Linked DNA regions of Homo sapiens: region 2 is linked to region 1. The links are contacts of gene promoters, found by promoter capture Hi-C in human tissues and cell types (Jung and others, 2019). All regions are on one chromosome and are shown on one strand. Each heading gives the region's core, a stretch centred on a gene start or on the middle of the fragment in contact. The rest is flanking DNA. Distances are from core to core; before and after follow the strand shown.

The links. The method cuts DNA at HindIII sites, captures the fragments that hold promoters and counts their contacts. A contact is called where the count stands out against the background at its distance.
Region 2: a contact is called between a fragment that was not itself captured here and the fragment with the promoter of BDKRB1 in region 1, in 5 of the 25 tissues and cell types used here (adrenal gland, bladder, heart left ventricle and 2 more).

The regions. Positions count from the first base shown.
Region 1 is chr14:96,254,151-96,259,425 of GRCh38, forward strand. It overlaps BDKRB1 (bradykinin receptor B1), which reads left to right and starts at 2,060. Exons shown (of 3, transcript NM_000710.4): 1 at 2,060-2,150. BDKRB1-AS1 (BDKRB1 antisense RNA 1) reads right to left here. Exons shown (of 2, transcript XR_007064322.1): 2 at 5,081-5,275. The HindIII fragment of the contact is 16,224 bases long and covers 1-5,275 here.
Region 2 is chr14:96,145,001-96,150,426 of GRCh38, forward strand. No RefSeq gene overlaps it. Among named protein-coding and RNA genes, the nearest start is that of BDKRB2, 57 kb to the right of the region's middle. The HindIII fragment of the contact is 3,202 bases long and covers 310-3,511 here.

The sequences.
Region 1 (5,275 bases), core at 810-3,309:
CAGCACACATCAGACTGTAAGGTTTAACCAAACCTTATAGAGGCTGTGGGAATTACAAACAACTAAATTCAGAAAAGGCAAGCATTGGCCGGGCACGGTGTCTCACGCCTGTAATCCCAGCACTTTGGGAGGCCAAGGTGGGTGGATCACCTGAGGTCGGGAGTTTGAGACCAGCCTAACCAACATGGAGAAACCCCGTCTCTACTAAAAATACAAAATTAGCTGGGTGTGGTGGTGTGTGCCTGTAATCCCAGCTACTCGGGAGGCTGAGGCAGGAGAATCGCTTGAACCCAGGAGGCGAAGGTTGCAGTGAGCCGAGATCGCTCCATTGCACTCCAGCCTGAGCAACAAGAGCGAAACTCAGTCTCAAAAAAAAAAGAAAAAAGGCAAGCGAAGCCTCAGAAGAGGGTCCTCAGTGCCTACCCACTTCTTAGTCCCCTGCTATCTTCTGCCACACTATAGGGACCTGCTTTTCTTTCACAGATTTGGGGTCCCCTCCCCCTGCCCTCAGCCCCACTCCCTTGGCCCCAGAGACAGTAGGAGACCCTCTGCTCCCCTGAGCCCGGGCCTGTCTCGCATTTCCCGTGGAGATGAGCAACAAGGGGAAACGTGGGTCTTCTTAAAGAACTTTCCTTTCCGCCCTCCACCACCTTGGCAAGGCAGCCAGATGCATCTCCGAAGTCCAGCTCACTCAGGCCAGCTCTCTTCACAGACTGTCTTCCAGCAAGAGGCAAAGCAGAGATGAGACCTGCACGTGCTCTTTGTGGCAGAGCTGGCCTTATACGCACTCCTGGGTGAATAAACAGGGAGACATCTCCTAAGAACAAACGCTTCTCAGAAACAGTATAGTCTAAACTCATACTGAAGGGAGAATAAGCCAGCCACGGGCTGGAGAGACCCCCGCCTACATTACTAAGTAACAGGAAAGGCTAAGATTTGGAGCCTTCCTCCGGTTCAGATCTATCCCGGGAGTAATGGAAGATGCTTGCCTGTTGACAATTTTTTTTTATTAAAAATCCCACCCAGGAGGTCTCTCCTGATAGGAGGGGACCATCCTATCCTCTAAGGCAAATTCCAGCTTCTTCCCTGAAATGTACATCCGCTACTGAGCCTCAGAATGCTATTTGTTCCACCTACTTCCACAGTTTTAAGGTCTTCAGCAACAGGAGAAGACAGCAGGAAAACTTGAAGTGCAGTTGGCTCCCGCTGAGATGTCACTAGCAGAAAAAGGGAACACAAGCAAAAGGCAAGATTCTAAAGACAGAGGTGACACCTTCTGCTCCAAACATTTGGAGGGTCACCTTTCCAGAAGTCAGACTCGAAGTCCTGAATTCTGGCATGAATGAGTTCTCCTACGTGTAGGGGGTGGCCTGGAAAGATCTTAATTTGTAAGTTGACAGGTAAGGGGCCTTCAGTTGGAGAATCTTGTCACCTGATTCTCAAAGCCAAAAATATCTTACTGTCTGAAACATGAGGTCTTGAGTAGTTCAACTTGACCCATGCAGACATAATTTGAGAGACGCCAAGGAGGATTAGGAAAAAATGTATCTGGTCTTACTCAACTCTGAACATTGCATGAGTCAAACGTTTTCCTAGCTCTCTGTTTGTGTGATGGGTCCACTCTGATGGATTCTTGGCGATGTATCTTTCATGACCAAAATTCAAAAGAGGCCATTCGAAGTGGCTCCCACAAAAGCTGCTGCAGAGCCCCAGACATTCAGAAGCCAATAGTGAAGGGGCCAAAAGCCATCCCTCAATGTTCACTGACACTTTGCGAGCCTTGGGGCAAGTTGGCGATGTCAAAACATGTTTTTAGGGCGTGTTTGCCAACATACAGGTCTTGGGCAGGATTGCAGACCTCTGCAGATGGTACCAAAGTAAAGGGGGAGATGGTAGCTGAATAATCTCTTATCATCCCTAAAGTGCAAAGTGAAATGAGAGTGGATTTTTCCTTCCAAATCCACTTGGAGTGAGTCCCGAAAGACTCACTTTTGCGGCAATCCCCACAATGACATCACTGGAGCGGAGGTTATATAATTTAAAGCAACCACATCTCCACAGCACTTCCCAGAAGAGAAAACTCCTCCAAAAGCAGCTCTCACTATCAGAAAACCCAACTACAGTTGTGAACGCCTTCATTTTCTGCCTGAGTAAGTAAATGACCACCTTTTTTTTTTCTTTTATGAGAGTACAATATGAGAGGAAATCTGTGTCTCTTAGAAAAACAAAAAACTTCCTTTTACACCTACCTATTGGCAAAATTTTCCACTTCTGTGAGGGTACTTTTTAAAAATAATTCTAAATCAATTTAAGAGACTTTTATTTCATGCCTAGTTTGGGTCTTAATTGCTTTTCCAGAACAGGAGGAGGAGGGAAAGGTTTTAGAACTCGTAGGAAGGTTCCAGTAGCTCCTTATATCAAAGTCAGGTGAAACATGTCAGGGCTGAATGCAGCCACCAGAGTTCGCATGGACTGACCAGTTACAGCCTGCAAATTCTGAATCATAAAAATTAAATTAGTCTCTCTGGGATGGCTTACAAGATTTCATAAGACCAATAACTGGTTGGGTTATTCGTGGCTTGAAAGTAGCATCTTACTATGTGACCGTGCTGATGGTCTTTAACATCTGTGGCTGAATTTCCAATGCCTTTAACATCACCATGCTGTTGAAATTGGAGTTAATTTGAAGAATTAACTAATTTGTTGAAGAAAGTCACACTGTCTCATAGCCTAGGTTAAAATGTGCAGAATTCAGAAAATACCACACAGGAATTACAGAATTGCCATCTCTTGTAGACTTGCCCAGTGCCCCTTCTGAGTTCTTCAAATAGGGTCACATATTACTAACAATATCCAGAGATATTGTTTATTGAGCACCTACTATGTTCCAGGCAAATATCAGAGCTAAAGCTGAAAACTGGCAAAGGAAGATTTCTCCTCTCTAGCCAACTTTATAAACACAGACAGCAGCAGGTGAGGACAATCCCTTTAAAAATAAGCCCCATGTGAGCAGACACATGCTGTGGCTGCAGTGGCCCCAGCCACCTCCCCGTCCTGGGGATGGGGGCGGTGTCCACTGACCTAATCAGGTTCGAGCTAAAGTCCCTGCGTAGCTGGTCGTCTCTGGCTTCCTGGGCAGGGTGCAGCCTCACCCCCGTGCTGGTTTCCTAAGGCTGCTATAATTAATTATCACAAAGTGAGTGGCTTAAAACGATGCAAGTTATTATCTTACAGTTCTGGAGATCAGGAGTTCAAACTCAGTCTCGCTGAGCTAAAGTCAAGATATTGGCTTGGCTTTGTTCTCCATCCCCATGATTCAATTATCTCCCACCAAGTCCCTCACACAACACGAGAGAATTATGGGAGCTACAACTCAAGATGAGATTTGGGTGGGGACACAGCCAAACCATATCAGTGCTCAACACCCTCCCATCTCTTCTCAAACTCTCAATGCCCCAGCCCCTCCACCACAGGTCAGGACCTCGCCTCCTTTCTCCCTGAGAAATCCCAACCAATCGCCGGGGAATTCTACAGATTCCCACCTGCCAGCCTCTGTCACCATAGACCTCAGCTTCCTGGCCATCATCAGAGATAGCTAGGAGAGGGATGGTCAGGCCATGTGTGTGCACACTGCCGGGGCACCCCAATAGTCAAAAATTATTTCCCCCAAAAATTAGTATTTACAGGTAGAAAGAGAGAGGAAAGAAGGAAGGAAGGAAAGAAGGAAGGGAAGGAAGGAAGGAAGGAAAGCAGGATGGGAGGGAGGGAAGAAGGGAGGGAGGAAGGGAGGGATGGAGGAAGGAAGGAAGGAAGGAGGGAAGGAGGGTAGGGAGGGAAGGAGAGAAGGAGGGAATGAAGGGAAGGAAGGAAGGAAGGGGAAAAAATCCAACAAAATGGTTATATTATATTGATGGTGTTATAAAGTAGTTCTAGATAAAAACTATTTTCAAAAAAGTCTTTAAATATATATGCATACACCTATGAATATTAAAGCAAAAGAAAACATGTTTATGTTAATCAACTGAACATTTAAAAATAAGATAAGCAAAATAATTGTTCTTGTTGTATATTCACATGCTACAGTTTCTTGTACCTGACTGATACCCTGTCACTGGCATTTTTCACAAGAATGTATTTTCTTCAGTGGGGTCTTGTTATTTTTAATTTTTCCATATAATTGCCTGAAATCTTTTTTCCACAAATTTTACAATTAACAAATTTAAATTAGTACCTTCAATTGACTCTTCTCTTGAACCATAATATATTGAGAAAATGTTCCCTGTGCAGGTTCTGAGTGATAAGCTCTCAGCAAATTCTGCCAGGCAGAGGCTGTTCTCAAGTCCAATTCTTTGCATATGGAATTGCATAAATATTTTAGCCCAGATATTTTCACAGGTGCTGTCTTTGTGCCTTAGTTTGGAATGTAGTGGTGCGATCTTGGCTCGCCACAACCTCCGCTTCCCAGGTTCAAGCAATTCTCCTGCCTCAGCCTCCTGTGTAGCTGGGATTACAGGCGCCTGCCACCATGCCCGGCTAATTTTTGTGTTTTCAGTAGAGACAAAGTTTCACCATGTTGGCCAGGTTGGTCTTGAACTCCTGACCTCATGTGATCCACCTGCCTCAGCCTCCCAAAGTGCTGGGATTACAGGCATGAGCCACACCGTGCCCAGCCCACACGTATTTTTTTTTAACCAGATTAAACCTTTCAAATAAGTTGTACCTACTTATAAGTTTTGAATGTTTTGTCAGATTCAGATACTGCAAAAAAAAAAAAAATCATTGGCTTTCTCAATTTCATCTCATTTCATACAGAACATGAATTTATCCAATTAAAAAGATTCTTCCCACAAGCTGAAATGTTCCAGAGCTCATTTTAGAATTTCAAAATTAACTCTTGTACAGCATTTGATTTTGATCATTTTCTGATACATTTTATAATTTTTCTGCATACCAGCTTTGTTTTCAATATTTATAATTCACTAAAAGCTTTGAAAGTTGACGTTTTGCTGCTCTATTCATTGAATAACTTGACTAAATATTTCCAACTGATTTGGAACAAAATTCAACGAAAATTTATAGATCTGTTTTAATACACTGTTTAATAACATTTTAGGATGCTGAGACTCAATGTCCACTAAAATTGATTGATAATGGGAAAATAAAAGAGAAAACACATGTGAAAGTCCAGTTTTTTAAAAAAATTCATGAACAACTTTATCACAAGTTTGTAGTTCAGTAAATCTGTGCATATGTTTTAACATTTTGTAAATTTTGT
Region 2 (5,426 bases), core at 661-3,160, 110 kb before region 1:
GCTCAGACTCCATTCTTGGTGATAATTGATCAGCCATGGCATTGGTATTTTTTAAATCTATCAGCTGCTACCAGCATGGAGAGGAGCTGAGAATCACTACCCTAGAAGAAGGTAGCAAAGAAGAGGAAACTACTAGCCTCTGGCCAAACATGAGACCCCCTGCTCCCACAGGTACAGCTCAGATTCTGAGCACTTTGGGGTTAGAGAGAGGGCGGCAGGTTTTAGGGAGAGTAGCCCCTTATTAAATAAGTCTGGCCTGTGGGTTCTACTCACTCTAACACAGTGGATCACAAGGACCTCCCCCTGGACTGAGAGCTCCTTAAGGGACAGGGCTATCTTACTTATCCCTGAAGACCTGGCACATGGTGGATGCTTCTTGAATGTTGAGAAAATGAATTAATAAGTTGTATTAAGACATAGTTATTCCAAACATCCAATAATAATGCTTTGGATAAATCAATTATGGTACCAAATTCAAAGGATTACTCTGCAACCATTAAAAATGATATTTAGTGAGATATGAAAATGCTTATGACATACTGTAATTGCAAACAGAAAGCTACAAAATAACATATGAATTACGAGCACAGTTTCGTTTTACAAGAAACACACAAAATTTATTCCCGAGTTTGACAGGGTATAAAATCAACTTCTGGCCTGTGTATGATTCATGTTGGAGAAACAAATGCTTCCTGACTCTTTGGAATTTACTGAAACCTCATTCTCCAAGGGAAGAATTTGTTTAGTTCGTGATTATTTTCATAGCCATGGTATGGACTAGAAAGTGGGTGCTGGGATTTGGAGTAATATTTTGCCACAGAGAATAAAAGAGTCCTCCCTAAAGGCGGCCCCATGCCCTGTGGTACATTCAGATAGGACATCTCACCAATTTAGATGTTTAGATATGACATCCACATGTTGTATTAGAACATACAGAAATATGATTCTGATATTGAGGGGGTTAGGGCTCATCTGTGATTAATCTTTTAAATTTTTGATCTTTTGAATCGTTAAATGTAATCTTTTAGTTTACATAACATTGATTGCCCACAGCTAAAAGGTTGGGAAGCACAGTGACCATCATCCCAGAGTTAGGAAGACTGAAAGGAAAGCTAAACTAGCTCCTTGAAAAGTCATGTAAACTATGTGGAATTCCTCCTGGATGCATCCAGAAACTACTGGCTGGGACTGAGCAAAGATAACAGCTATTTAACATGCTTAGCAACACTCTGGAACTCAAATACACTTTACCAAATAAATCACTCACCATTGTTCTAGGCCTGGGGCTCCCCTGGCATTGCAGGACAAACATGACTGTGTTCCCCTGCCAAGAATGAGAAAGCACAGCCAGCCAGCTCCCTCTGGAGCAGGGCATGAATTGGCGGTGGATGAAATTGGTCTTAGCTCATTCCTCAAGACCTTCCCCGCCCAGTCACTCAGTGTGTGGAAGTGGAAAGTGTTTAACAAACAGGGTAGAATTAACTTCCAAAACAGAGGTAAAAACTCCCAGGCCACCCCTACCCTGCATCCTGTGGTGTACAACTACAGGAACTCAACAAGGGCAAAACACCACCAAGAACTCAAAGACGCAAGTAAGAGTTAAGTCTGACCTCACATGTCCCCCAGCATGCAGCAACTCAAGCAAACACATCCACTAAATCTGAAAAAATATATTTGAGAGAATGCTTACCCTTCCCGGTGACCCCAGAACATGTGAGCCCTTTACAATGTTGAGAAAGAAATGTGCCTTCAGGCCAGTTTTACCATCTAGGTAATTTCGTTTTGCATTTTAAACATTTACTTTGTTGACTTTCTGTCTTAATGACCTGTCTAGTGCTGTCAGTGAAGTATTGAAGTCTCCCACATTATTATGTTGCCATCTATCTCATTTCTTAGGTCCAGTAGTAATTGTTTTATGAATTTGGGAGTTCTGGTGTTTTACATATACACACACACACACACACACACACACACACACACACGTATAGCTACAAAATATATATGTATATGTGTATAGCTACATATACATATATGTGTATGTGTGTGTATATATATATGTATATATATATATATATATATATATATATATATGCCTGTGATATTTTCCTGTTGGACTATTCCTTTTATCATTATACAATGTCCTTCTTTGTCTTTTTTCACTGTTGCTGCTTAAAAGTCAGTTTTGTCTGATATAGGAATAGCTACTTCTACTCTCTTTTGGCTTCTATTTGCGTGGAATATCTTTTGTCACCCCTTAAGCTTATGTGAGTCCTTATGTGTTGGGTGAGTATCTTGAAGACAGCAGATACTTGGTTGGTGGATTTTTATCCCTTCAGCCATTCCATACCTTTTAAGTGGAGCATTTAGGCCATTTACATTCAATGTTAGTATTGAGATGTGAGGTACTGTTCTATCCATTATGTTAGTTGTTGCCTTAATACCTTGTGGTTATTTCCATTGTATTATTGTTTTATAGGCCCTGTGAGATTTATGCTTTAAGTAGGTTCTATTTTGGTGTATGTCAAGGTTTTGTTTCAAGATTTAGAACTCCTTTTAGCATTTCTTATAGTGCTGGCTTAGTTGGGCAAATTCTCTCAGCATTTGTTTGTCTGAAAAAGACTATCTCTCCTTCATTTATAAAGCTTAGTTTCACTGGATACAAAATCCTTGACACACAATTATTTTGTTTCAGGAGGTTGAAGATGGGACCTCCATCCCTTCTGGCTTATAAGGTTTCTGCTGAGAAGTCTGTTGTTAATCTGATATGTTTTCCTATAGATTATCTGATGCTTTTGTCTCAAAGCTCTTAAGATTCTTTCCTTCATCTTGACTTTAGATAACCTGATGACTATGTGCCTAGGTGATTATCTTTCTATGATGAATTTTCCAGGTGTTCTTTGAGCTTCTTGTATTTGGAGGTCTAAATCTCTAGCAAGGCCAGGGAAGTTTTCCTCAATTATTCCTTCAAGTAAGTTTTCCAAACTTTTAGATTTTGATTCTTCCTCAGGAACGCCAAGTATTCTTAGATTTGGCCATTGAACATCCCAAATTTCTTAGAAGCTTTGTTCGTTTTTAAATTCTTTTTTTCTTTGTCTTTTTCTGATTGGGTTAATTTGAAAGCCTTGTCTTCAAGCTGTAAAGTTCTTCTACTTGCTCTAGTCTATTGCTGAAACTTTCCACTGCATTTTGTATTTCTCTAAGTGTGTCTTTCATTTCCACAAGTTGTGATTGTTTTTTTCTTTACATCTATTTCTCTGGAGAATTTTTCATCCATATCCTGTATTTTTTTTTAAAGTTCCTTAAGTTGGTTTTCACCTTTCTCTGGTATCTCCTTGAGTAGCTTTAATAATCAACCTTCTGAATTCTTTATCTGGCCATTCAGAGATTTCTTCTTGGTTTGGATCCATTGCTGAAGAGCTGATGTGATCTTTTGGGAATATTATAGAACCCTGTTTCGTCATAGTACTAGAATTACTTTTCTGATTCCTTCTCATTATTATTGCTCTTCTGGGTCTAGCCACCCAGTGGGGATACCAGGCTCTGAGCTTGTGCTGGAAGATGTCTGCAGAGTCCTATGATGTGACCTGTCTTCAGGTCTTCCAGCCGTGGATACCAGTGCCCACTCTGTGAGAGTCTTTGGTTGTAGATATGTTTAGTGTGCTGACTTTCTTGAATGCCGGTTATGCTAGTGATGAGGTTTCATGTGGACACCCGCAGGACCTCTGGTTAGCCAAGATATTGCAGGCAGCAAAATTAGGTGTTGTATTCTCCTTCCTGGGATCAAGGTCATTCTGTCCTGAGTTGTTGTAATGACCTGAGTTGGTTGGCCTCCAGCCAGGAGGTGCTGCTTTCAGGAGAGCAACAGCTGCTGTAGTAGTAGGAGGCTCTAAGCTCTCTAGGCTTGCCCAAAGATGGCCAGGGTAAGTATTTTGATTTATCAGGCAATGGATAGGGCCTTAAAGCTTCCAAGAGTTTCTGGGTTTTGTGTTTGGCTACGAGGGCAAGTAGGGAAATACCATCAGGTCCAGGCAGGGTTAGGCAGGTCTAGGCTCACACTCTTCTTGTGGAGGGCTTACCATGGCCACTGTGGGGAATAGGGGAGTGTCTCTCAGGCCAATGGGGTTAGGTCCAGAGGGGATTATGACTGCCTCTGCCATGTCATGTAGTTTGCCAGGGAAGTGGGGGATAGTTGGTAGCGAGAGGCCTCACCCAGCTCCCACGTAGTTGGAAAGACTAGTCTTGCTCTTGCAGTGCCCCACTCAGACCTTGCCCCAGGCCATGAGCTACCCCACTGAGAAAGCAAGCACAGCTCTCAGACCTTGCCCCTCGCCCCTCCCATCTGCCCACTCTGACAGTGGCAGCTCCTGTGCTTCTGTGCTCCCTCACTCACTCATATCCAGCTCTTGCTCATCCCCTGGACTCCACTCAAGAAAATGTGTGCCCAGTCGAAACCACAACCAATTTCAGTTGGGAGTTTCCTTTGTCCCACAACCCCTCCCCAGTTCCACTGGCTGCCTTCCCCAAGGGCCCCTGTGAGATATAAAAGCAATGGCTTCCCAGGGCTCGAGCTGGAGACTGAGAGTGCATTAAGGCTCTTCCCTTGAAGCTAACTGTACTTTTATATTTCTTGCACCTCCCTAAATCTGTTTCATTTCTAGGTAAGGTTAAATCCTTCTCCTGTGATCTGGATTTTCAGATTCTCCAGTGGGGATGTGTGTTCAGAGGTGGATTTTCCCCCTCTCACACTTTGGGAACTCACAGTTTTTCACCTGTTTCATGGAATTTGCATCAGGGTGCCGCTTCTTTCAAAGGATCTGTGGATTCTTTTGGTTTTCCTGGTACGTTCCTACAATGGTTCTTGGAGCAAAAGATCATGGTGTGAGTCTCCACACACTGTTCTGTTCATCCATGTGGGAGCTGCATGTTAGCCCTGTCTCCTATCCACCATTTCTATCCTTAAACATCATTAACTGAGTGGTTACTATATGCCAGGTACATAGTACAACACAGACGGTTCAGGTACAAAAATCAGAGGCAATTTCTTTCTTCTAGGAAATTTTAGTTCAGAAAGAGAGATAGGTAAAAATAACCACTGAATTTCAAACAAAGTTAACCAAGTAACCATCATCACTCCATCATCATCACATCTGCTAGCATTGATGGAGAGCCTGTTACTCTGGTGCTAGAGTACTCTACATGTATCACCTCATTTAATTCCCACAATGACTTATGAGGAAGTTCCCATTATTGATTCCAGTTTACAGATGAGAAAACAGAGACTAAGTAATTGCCCCAACATCTTAAAGCCAGCATGTGCCAGACCCAGTATAAAACTTGAGTCTGCCTCCAGAGTTTCTTTTTTTTTACATTATTATTTCTATTATTTATATTTCTATTATTTCTAATTATTTCTAATTTCTATTATT